Regions from separate parts of the Homo sapiens genome. Here all the other regions are linked to region 3. The links are contacts of gene promoters, found by promoter capture Hi-C in blood cells and fetal thymus (Javierre and others, 2016). All regions are on one chromosome and are shown on one strand. Each heading gives the region's core, a stretch centred on a gene start or on the middle of the fragment in contact. The rest is flanking DNA. Distances are from core to core; before and after follow the strand shown.

The links. Contacts are between HindIII fragments. The CHiCAGO score rates a contact against its expected background, and 5 or more counts as called.
Region 1: a contact is called between a fragment that was not itself captured here and the fragment with the promoter of ARID4B in region 3, in 2 of 17 cell types (non-activated CD4 T cells and activated CD4 T cells). The highest score is 7.2, in non-activated CD4 T cells.
Region 2: a contact is called between a fragment that was not itself captured here and the fragment with the promoter of ARID4B in region 3, in 5 of 17 cell types (naive CD8 T cells, total CD4 T cells, total CD8 T cells and 2 more). The highest score is 7.7, in naive CD8 T cells.
Region 4: a contact is called between a fragment that was not itself captured here and the fragment with the promoter of ARID4B in region 3, in 1 of 17 cell types (activated CD4 T cells). The highest score is 5.5, in activated CD4 T cells.

What each region holds. Positions count from the first base shown.
Region 1 is chr1:234,464,663-234,467,362 of GRCh38, forward strand. TARBP1 (tRNA guanosine 2 -O-methyltransferase TARBP1) reads right to left here. Exons shown (of 30, transcript NM_005646.4): 5 at 994-1,046. Among named protein-coding and RNA genes, the nearest start is that of TARBP1, 13 kb to the right of the region's middle. The HindIII fragment of the contact is 260 bases long and covers 1,214-1,473 here.
Region 2 is chr1:234,480,808-234,483,507 of GRCh38, forward strand. No RefSeq gene overlaps it. Among named protein-coding and RNA genes, the nearest start is that of TARBP1, 3.0 kb to the left of the region's middle. The HindIII fragment of the contact is 2,467 bases long and covers 193-2,659 here.
Region 3 is chr1:235,326,909-235,329,608 of GRCh38, forward strand. It overlaps ARID4B (AT-rich interaction domain 4B), which reads right to left and starts at 1,271. Exons shown (of 24, transcript NM_016374.6): 1 at 861-1,271; 2 at 6-60. The coding sequence starts at 11. GGPS1 (geranylgeranyl diphosphate synthase 1) reads left to right here and starts at 1,662. Exons shown (of 4, transcript NM_004837.4): 1 at 1,662-1,870. RefSeq lists enhancers at 1-141, 160-685, 1,422-1,481, 1,722-1,811, 2,312-2,461 and silencers at 392-481, 492-721, 892-941. The HindIII fragment of the contact is 9,318 bases long and covers 1-2,700 here.
Region 4 is chr1:234,408,760-234,411,459 of GRCh38, forward strand. It overlaps TARBP1 (tRNA guanosine 2 -O-methyltransferase TARBP1), which reads right to left. Exons shown (of 30, transcript NM_005646.4): 23 at 1,686-1,772. Among named protein-coding and RNA genes, the nearest start is that of COA6-AS1, 37 kb to the left of the region's middle. The HindIII fragment of the contact is 851 bases long and covers 958-1,808 here.

The sequences.
Region 1 (2,700 bases), core at 94-2,593, 860 kb before region 3:
AATATTAATATAACGTGGCAGAGACTAATTAAAAATGTTTCAAGAAATTGGCTGGTGGGGGGAGGTAGTTCTGTTTAGAGGGCATACTGAACAGCAAGACACAACTATAAATTTAGTTAATATTAGAAAGATAACACAATTTCAAGAGCAAGGGAAATTTTTGAAGACAGAATTCAAGAGTCATAAATGATGCTCAAAAAAATGAGGCTAAGGTACAATCCTGACAAACTTCTCACTGTCAACCTTTTCAAAACTTTAACTGTGGCCTATAAGTAGAGACAGGATGAATAACAGCAGCCACTGTCAGATACGGAAAGGAAAAGGTTAGAATGAACCTTGCAGTACTGAACTAAAACTGGACGTCCTGGTGTGAATTCACGGTTCTTAATATGGATGGATGGATGAACGGATGGATGGATGGATGGATGGATGGATGGATGGCGGACAGACAGGCACTCAAACAGATATAAATGAGTAAGTCTGGTCAGTAGACAAAGCTAAGAAAGATGCGCACACAGGGAGAGGCAACGATCAAGCAAATGCAGTAAAACCTTAACATTCAGGGAATATGGGTGAAAGGGAAATGAGAATTCTTTGGATTATTCTCAAGACTTTTCTGTAAGTGTAAAACTAAGTTAAAAGAAAAAGGAAAATAAGTTTAAAGTGTTGGTTAGTCAAAATCATTACAACTTCCAAGAGAGCAGGAAGCAGCAGTAGGGAGAAGAAAGTGTGCTGTAGAAGACATAGTTTCCAACAGCCCAAGAATAGAGCAGCTCAAGGCAGAAAAAGGAAACAAGAAAAAACAAAGGAGAAACACTTGATGCAAATCAGAATGCAAGAAGAATAACAGATAGAAAAAGGACCACATGATAAGAAAAACTCAACTGTCTATTCAGCAACATACTGTATGTGCCAAATGCATGAAACAATCTGGTCATGTCTCTTAACATGAAATGTATGTATCAAATACTTCATAACATAATGTCTCTTTACCTGCTATACAGAGAGCTCTCTGAAAGCGCATCCATTAATGGTCCAATAATAAACTAAAAAAAAAAAAAAAAAAAGACACGTAATTGAAACTTAGTTGTAAATACAATTTTGAAGTCAGTTTCCCTGATTGAACATCCTACACAGGCTTACAGAAGACCTGCTATAAGCAAAGCTGATCTCTTACGCTGCAGGCTAAATTTAGTGCTGGTCCTGGAGGGGAAGCTTAATTCTACCAGAAAAACAAAGTAAGTACAGAATTTTCCCACCTGATTAAAATTTATGCCATACTAAAAAGAGAGTTCATGTGTTGGGTCAAGAAAGAAGGAAGGAAGCCAAAGAAGAAACATATGCTAGAAAATAAAGGTAATGACAGGAAAACCAAAAAGATACTCAAGAGAAAATTTAAGCCCCTATGCCTAGAGGATAAAGAGGAAAAAAATTATACTCAAAAATTACTATTAGATACTGGTCAGAAAAGCAAGCTTACATGAAGTGCAGAAATAATAGAATGTAGAAACATGATGCATATCAATATACCACAGCATATATTAAAATAATTAGAAAAAACTGACTTAGGCTGGTGCAGTGGCTCCCACCTATAATCCCAGCACTTTGGGAGGCTGAGGTGGGCAGATCCCTTGAGGCCAGGATTTTGAGACCAGCCTGGCCAACATGGCAAAACCCTGTCTCTACTAAAATTACAAAACTGAGCCAGGCATGGTGGCGTGCACCTGTAGTCCCAGCTACTTGGGAGGCTGAGGCATAAGAATCCCTTAAATCTGGGAGGCAGAGGTTGCAGTGAGCTGAGATCACGATACTGCACTCCAGCCTCGGCAACAGAGTGAGACTCTGTCTCAAAAACAAAAAAATTATATCACTATCTGAGAAATATATTCAATCATTCTTTTAAAAAAGAAGAAGAAGAAGCCAGGCACAGTGGTTCACACCTGTAATCCCAGCACTTTGGGAGGCCAAGGCAGGTGGATCACTTGAGGCCAGGAGTTCGAGACCAGCCCAGCCAAGATGGTGGAACCCCATCTCCACTAAAAATACAAAAATTAGCCAGGTGTGGTGGCACCCACCTGTAATCCCAGCTACTCAGGAGGCTGAGGCAGGGGGATCACTTGAACCTGGGAAGCGGAGGTTGCACTGAGCCGAGATCATGCCACTGCACTCCAGCCTGGGTGACAGGCATGAGACACCATCTCGAAAAAAAAACAGCTATTGAAAGAAAAAGAAGAAAAAAATTGACTTAGGTCACCTCTAAATGAGAGGTAGATTACTCTACCTAAGGAAGTCATCATGGGACTCACATGACACCATAATATAAAACTTAAAATCACAGCTATAACTCCCACTGTCTCTGCCTCACGTAGTTCCTGACAAATGGAAGTACAGATTCTAATAAATATTGCTTAGAAGGCAATCCCTATTTCATATAGTAGACAACAGCAATTCATTGAGTCAGAATTGAGGCAGTAGCATCACTAAACAAATAACAGTCATCAGTGGCTCAGAACGGTGACAACAGCATCACCTGATAGCTTCTATACCAGTTTTCATATAGTGAAAACTTGACTTATGCTTACGATTCTTGACTTAACGCTGTTCTGAATATCGATAATATACAACTACTTTTTCACAATGGTAATAATACAGGCAGTTCTACCGTTGGGCTTGTTGAGAAACAACATAAGCTTTTTCCAA
Region 2 (2,700 bases), core at 176-2,675, 850 kb before region 3:
TCTCATACATTACTGGTGGGCATGAAAACGGTACAGTCACTTTAGAAACTGTTTCTCGTAAAGTTATAATATAGCTGCTTTATGATTCAGCGATTTCACCCCCAGGTAATTACCTAAAATAAATGAAAACATGTTTCAAAAAAAAAAGCTTGCAGAAGAATGTTTTTGACAACATTATTCGTTATAGCCAAAAGCTTATAACAACCTAGTAGGTGTTAGGTAACAACCTACATGTGCATCAAATTGAAGAATGAATAAAAAATTGTGATCTATCTATATAATAATGCTCCCAGCAATAAGACAATGAATTGCTAATCCGCTTTACATGGATAAGTCTCAGAAACAATATGTTAAACAAAGGAAGCCAGTCACAACGTTTACATCCTCGTGATTTCATTTATATGAAATCCAAGAAGAGACAAAAGTAATCTGAAGGATAGAAATGAGAACAGTAGTTGCATATAGGGAGTAGAGATTTGACTAGAATTGGGCACAAGGGAACTTTCTGGGGTGATGAAAATATTTTATGTTGATCAGGGTGTTGTTACACATTTGTCAAGACTCCTTGAACTGAACCCTTAAGATCTATGCATTTCGCTCTGCAGAAAGTTTACCTCAATCAGCCGGGCGCAGTGGCTCACACCTGTAATCCCAGCACTTTGGGAGGCCGAGGCCGGTGGATCATGAGGTCAGGAGATTGAGACCATCCTGGCCAACATGGTGAAACCCCATCTCTACTGAAATACAAAAAAATTAGCTGGGCATGGTGGTGCACGCCTGTAATCCCAGCTACTCGGGAGGCTGAGGCAGGAGAATTGCTTGAACCCAGGAGGCAGAGGTTGCAGTGAGCCAAGATCACACCACTGCACTCCAGCCTGGAGACAGAGTGAGACTTGGTCTCAAAAAAAAAAAAAAGAAAGTTTACCTCAATCTTGAAAAATGACTTATACCAAAAAACAAAACAAAACAAAACAAAACAAAAAAACAAGTTGGCCTATGTGTTTTATTCTCTGTTGCCTTCAGAGTAAAGCCTAACTGCAGAGCACAGCATTGAAGGCTTATTGGGATTGGGGAAAAGCCAGCTGGCCTCACAGCCTGACTCCCCCTTCTCTGCCCCAGGTCAGGCATGTGGAACTCTCCTTCTTACCCACAACATGTTTGCACTGTCTTCTCTCCCGGAATATTTCCCGCAACACCACTTTTCTGATTCACCAATGTGGGCAGCGATTCCTAATTGCCAGAGCTGCCCTTTTTCGTTCTTACCTGAATGGACTCTGTGGAGTATTTCCTATTTCTTGAAACACTATCTCACTCTGGTTTTCATCGATGACTTTGTCCTGTTCTTTCTTTTCTCTGCTTCCTCAGCTGTTTCTTCTCCCTTTCTTTCAGCATCTTATTTTTCCTCCTGACCTGTCCATAGTGATATTTCCAGGGTTTTATCTTCAGGTCTCTCTTCTCCTCACTCTGTAAATTTTCTCTGAATAACTTCATTAACACTATAGATCTGATTACCATTTACATGCTAATGATGAAAAAGTCTGTATCTCCAGCCTAGGTCTCTCTCCTGAGACTTATCCTTAGGAGATAGCTCGAAACCTATTTCTCCAACTGCCTACCACACGTCTTCATTTGAATATTATTCAGGACATCATTCTCAGTCTCCACTTTTACAAATCTAACTTCATTCCCTTCATCCCTTCACCCAGCATCATTACTCCCCACCGATGTTCTTCTTCCCAGGAATTCCCTGTTTAGGGAAATGGCCATCATTCCCAAGTTGCCCAAGTCAAAAACCTGGGAACCAATACACTTCCTACTTGATTCTCACATGCAATCACTCCTCAAAGTTTCCATGCAACTTTCTAAATCTCTCGGTGATCCCTCCTCTCTGTGCCCCACTAATACCTTACTTAGTTTTAGACCCTCCTCATTTCTTGCCAAGATAATAGCAATCACCACCTACCCCACTCCCAGCTATATCACATTTAAGTAACGCTTATCGAGTGAATAGCCATCTCCTACTCCTTTATGAAGACCCAAATTTCAAGGCATCTCTCTAAGAAGCCATTCCTAGTGCCCCTGGTCGTGTAATACATACTCCGTATTGGTACTAGGATGATCTTCCTAAAATTACATCATTGGCTACCCAGAGCCCTCAGAATCATGGTTGAGTTTCTTAGCATATCATCCAAGATGCCTCAAGATGGAATGCCTGCCTAATTCTCCATCTTCACACTCCTGACAAGCCCCATTTACACCTTAATTTTGAAGTCCCTAAAACATGTGTGCTCTCACTTTTCTTTGTGTTTTTTCAAAAAAAGCCCTTCTCTCTTTTGGAAAGCACTTACCCCTTCTCCACCTGACTTTTTTTTTCTTTCAAGACAAAGTTCAAATGTTATCTCTCCAGAAAGTCATTTCTTAATACCTTTCTCCTGCTGCTAACACCCCAGTTAAATTAGGTGACCCTCTTTCAAATTCCCCAAACATCCTGGCATGTCACCAACACAGCAATGGTCACACTGTGTTGCAATTGCAGGTTATTTCTCTGCCCCCTACTCCTCCTCTCTAAGCAATTTGAGGGCTAGGCATGGGGTATGAGGTTTTGTCTGCTATTATACTCATGCCAGTACCTCATCTCAGACATAGCACACTTCAGTAAAGCTTTTTTTTTTTTGTAGATGGAGTCTCGCCCTGTCACCC
Region 3 (2,700 bases), core at 21-2,520:
CTTACCTTCATGATGACTCTGGGACCAAGGTATCCTCTAAAACACCAGGTTCAGCTGCACCTGGAGGGGAAACAAAAGACACCCAGTCAACACCACAGGAGCCCCTCTGCACTGGCGGAGGCGGAGGGAAAGAAGCGAGCGACGTCCGAACCCCGAAGAAAGAGCCGCAACCAGGCGCCAGCCCCCGAACCATCACACGCCGACTCGGGGCTCCCTCCGGCCCCGCCATCCCCGCAAACCCAACCACCTACACAGCTCGGCAGCTTCCCGTCCCCATTGTCGAGACCCGACGGAGTTTCCCGTCTACGACAATGACGCCATTTCTGTCAGAGAAGAAACTCACAACAAGCCCGGCGTCCGGCGCAGGGCCGGCCGCTCTCCCCTAGGGCCTCGGCGCCCGGCCGAGCGAATCCGCGCCCCCACGCGCCGCGTCCGAGCGAGAGGCCGGCCGGGGGCCACCGAGGGGCCAGGAGGGCCTGTGGGCCGCGGGCAGGACCGGCCCGCCACAGAGCCCCTGCCCACGTCCCGTTCCGGGCTCAGACCCGACAAGTGGGAGCGAGATCAACATCTGGCCCCGCCGCGGGGACAACGTGAGGGCCGAGGGCCCCGGAGGCGGAACGGCCCCCACCCTGCCCGGGCCCCCGACCGCGGCCGCTAAACCGCTGAGTGTGCGGCCGCCCAGCCAGGGGGCGGCTCGGACACAGCGGCTGCGGGGGGTGGGGGTTCCCGGGAGGCCGAGGCCCCGAATTCGGGCGCCGCAGGGACCACCACCGCGATCTTCCTCTGCTCCTTGGCCGGGCCCAGCGACTCCCAAAAGAACCCCCTTAGGAGACCACGAAAGCCCCAGAAAATATCCCTACCTTCCTCGGAGGCGAGATCTGACCCTGGCACGTCCAGAGTCCCCTCTCTCCTTCTCCCCCCCAAAACCAGCAGGCCCGGGGGAGAGATGGGGAAGAAGGGCGGCGGGTCCAGCGGCTGCTGAGGCAGAGGCTCCGGCTCCTCCTCCTCCCGCGGCGGCGACTGGTACCTTTGTTTGGCGGCCGCTCGGGCTCCCTGGTTGGGGGGAGGGGGACGACGAAAAATCCCCCCCGGACTGGAGGTCCGGGCCCCCAATCGCGCTGCCCTCCAGAGGACGGCGGCGATGGACCCTCTGCAGCTCCCTCCGGGCAAAGGTCCAGGCGGTGGCCGTGGCGGCGGCAAGATGAAGCTCAAGAGTCTCCCTCCGCTTCGGCGACCGAGCTCCTCACTCCGGACTCGACTGACGGGCAAACATCGCTTCCCCCCCACCGACTCTAGGTTCCCCCCCTTTCTCCCCTCCCCTAGATTTTTTTTCCCCCCCTCCCCTACCTCTTTCCCGGATGGCCTCTTAGACGACCTTGGATTGGTTAAAGTTCTTTAGAACCCGCCTATACACTGTTCCTATTGGTCCCTGGATACAAACAACGACGCCATTTTCCCACCAGTTCTATGGAAACAGAAAGTTACGCCTCAAGGCTTTCTGGGAAATAAAGTCCATACTCTGGGGCCAACGCGCAAATCCTCGTCCGCGAGAACTGCAAGGCCCGCAATGCCCTGCGCCTGCGTGGACCGGTGCGGGGGCGGGGGGGAGGTGAAAGGGGCGGGGCAACAAAGCAGTAGGGAGGCGGCAACGACGCCTGCGCAGTGTGACCGGGATGGCGCATTTTCTTGCACCAACTAATGCGGTGTCGCTGGCGGCTGAGGAGGGCGGAGAGTTCTGTGGTGAAATAGTGGGAAGGATTCATGTAGGCATCGGGAAGAGCCTAAGTCCACATTATAAAATAGGAAGTTGATGCGGGGTACAGTTACTCCCGGACCGGCGGCGTGAAAGTCGTGATATCATCGTTGAACTGTGAGCGGCAGTGGCGGCGGCTGGGGGGAACCCGGATGGGAAGAAGGGCGGGGGAGGCTGGGAGGCGGGGCAGAGGAAAGAAAGAAAGGAGAGTGAGGACCCGGATGCTGAACCGGATTGTGTATGAATTTTCCATCCCCTAGCTTTAAGCGAGGAGGGAGAGGAAGGGTTGGCCAAGTGGGGCGGAAGGGAGCATCTGAGCGAGGAGGAAGCAGAAACCTCACCGTTTCTTCCCCTCCGGACTCTGTGCTAGCACTGTATACGTTTGCAGTTCTCTGCCCAGCCGCTGTGGAAAATCGGCCTCGAAGTGATTGAAATTCCCTGTTTATATCAGGCGGCTTCTTTCAGATCCATCGTCTTTCTCCCGGAGTATGAATGGAAGGATTCAGTATGCGCTTCACATTTGTATGTCTCTGGCCATTCTCAAACCAGGCCCTTCCCTTTGAAAAGTCTTTTGCATGGGATGTTCACTTCTTAGACGCAAGGTTGTGTGCCCTGGTTTCATCGTCTAACGCGTTAGAAGGCGCTTTCATTTCTTCATGGGTGTTGAGCGCCGACCACTGGGGTGGCCTCTGCCTTCGTAGACCTGCGCCTGGTGAGACGGACAGATGCTGAACAAAACGATGTGAAATTACCGCAGTGGCAGTGCCCCAGAGGAGAGTTCCACGGTGATAGGAGAATGAGGGAATTTGGCTTCTTTAGGGAGGGAAAGGAAGGGTTTCTGAGCAAGTGAGGATCGAGCTGAGAGCTGAAGGGCTAGCAGGAGTTAACTAAGGAAAGAGAAAAGGAAAAGACATTCCAGACAAAAAGACTAACTTGTCAGAAAGCCC
Region 4 (2,700 bases), core at 133-2,632, 920 kb before region 3:
ATTATCCTTAAAAACTCTGATCCCCGAATGCTCAGGGAGATCGATTTGAGTACTAATAAGACTCCAGTCTCCTGCACAAGCAGCTCTGTGTACTCTTCCTCTATTGCAATTCCTGTCTTGATAAATCGGCTCTGTGTAGGCGGCGGAAGAGGTGAACCTGTTGGGCGGTTACCACCTCTGTCGTGTGTGACAGTTGTTTTGAATCTCTAATTGCTCAGTACAGATCCCACATGCAGGTTAAGTAAGATGCTTTGAAGAAAATGGAAAGTCTTAAGTGATTGCTTCCAAGAAATCAAACCTACATTTATCTAGGTAACAACGGACTTTACGTATCACAAATGAAGAGACTGACAAAGTAAATCAACTTGGCCTTTTCTTAGGTATGTCAAGTCAGTTTTTTTTTTCCTAAGGTGTTGAAATGGAAATTCTTCCATTTCACTAATTAGCATTCCTTTTTGGATGTTTCGAAAATAAAAAATAAATCTAAAATATGTAATAAACGGCAAGTACAAAAAGGGCTTGACAGAAAAATAACATGTTACTTTTACCAGATCTAACATGAACATCTTCTAAGGTAAATTCGTTTTCAGAATTTGTCTAAACTATTCTTAGGCTATTCATCTACCCCGCAACAGGACAATGTCTGCTCTGTTTTAGCTTTCTCAATAGATTGTAAGCAAATCTCTTTGCGGCACATATTTAAAACAGAAAGACAACATTTGATCTTATCTGATGCCAGAGCCTTCTTGATCTTACGGAAGATGTGAACGAGTTTTCCTGGAACTGTAACACACTGCCATCTGGCTGATACACACTGGAAGACACCATCAATTTAAAAGTGTTATCATGATTTTAGAGGAAAATGTGGTGTGGAGAAAGGCCTGTCTTTGAATGGATGAAATAGGTTAATAAAAAACATCACTGTTTAAAAACTAGAACACTGAAAAATTCTAGGAAAGCTTATTTTCCCTTATATTTTTATGGTACTTTCAACACTTAATAACACTATTTCAATTAAGTTTTCTCCTAGAGTTTATAGTATATCAGTACATTCTTTTCTGTGGATGCAATAATATAGAATCTTATTCCAAATCTTACTGGCAGGTTCTCTTAAATTCTTCAACGGCTGCCATAGTGATTAACCAAAATTAGTTATGATTTCTGCCTATCTGTGTGAGAACTTACAGGGGAAATTGTTCTAAACCTGAGGAACATGAAGTAACTGTACTGCACACTCCAAATGATGACAGTCATTTTATATCACCTTCAATTACCCAACAGCTTTTAATAGTCTGGCCATAAGTTTCTTTGCACGAGCATTTGTTAAATAACTACCATTCAGTCAAAGAAGGTAAGGGAAGTCCTGTTTAAAGAATCCTAAGTAATCCTAATCCTAAGAATTATAAATAATTATTAATTTTATACAAGTATCAACAAAAACTTACCCAGTAGTTTGTCTATAAATTTGGTATGTACTCAAGCACACCTCAGTGTGTATGCATGTAAATGGGTAATTCCCATTTACTGGGTATTTGTGTCTAATACATGTGCACATTAGCAGGGCAGTGGAAAGGAAAGGGAAAAATTGCAAACATTCACAGGAATGCTCTACATATAAAAAATTGGTACAAATACATACAATTCTTTTTTTACAGTCAAGTTTAAATTCTTACAAACAAACTTACCTTTTCTGGAATATTTTGAGTAATAATGTCTAAATGTGATAAAACTGCTAAAAACGTACAAATGCTTGTTTTAAGATTTTCTTCACCCTGAAAAAATAATCAGATAAACAAATATTGATTCAAAGCTTACTGTGAAACATGCACGTGAAAGCGCCGTGCTGGACTCTATGAGGGCCCAGGACAGGAGGCAGCCTCTTCCCTGGAACAGCCCGGGGTCTGGGTGGGAAGGGGGCTGCGGCAACAGGCACAGGACTGAAAGCAAAGGAAATATTTCCTAGAGCCAAATGCCAGTGCACACAAAAATCAGCAGGTCACATAAAGTACTGAATAACTCAACTCTAAGTACAGCGGGGCACAGTGGCTCACGCCTATAATCCCAACACTTTGGGAGGCTGAGGCGGGTGGATCATTTCAGGCCAGGGGTTTGAGATCAGCTTGGCCAACATGGTGAAACCATGTCTACCAAAAAATACAAAAATTCGCTGGGCATGGTAGCGCACACCTGTAGTCCCAGCTACTGGGGAGGCTGAGGTAGAAGAATTGCCTGAACCCAGGGCAGAGTTTGCAGTTAGCTGAGATCGTGCCACTGCACTCCAGCATGGGCAACAGAGCAAGACCCTGTCTCAAAAAAAAACATAAAATAAAGTACAGTGTGCCCTCTGTATGCACGAGTTCTGCATCTATGAGTTCAACCAACCGTGGATGAAAAATATTTAACAAAAAATTTTTAAAACATAATGCAATTAAAAAGTAATACAAAGTTTAAAACTGTATAACAGCGATTTACATAGCATGTACATTGTACTAGACATTATAAGTAATCTAAGATTATTAAAGTATATGGGAGGATACACATCAGTTATGTGCAACTACTATGCCATTCTAAACAAAAGACTTGAGCATCCTCAGGTTTTGGCATCCGTAGGGGGCCTGGAATCAATCCCCCATGGATACCAAGGGTTGATTATCTGTGGCAGAGCCAAGGGCATGCTCACTTCAGGAGAGGTGAGGCCTT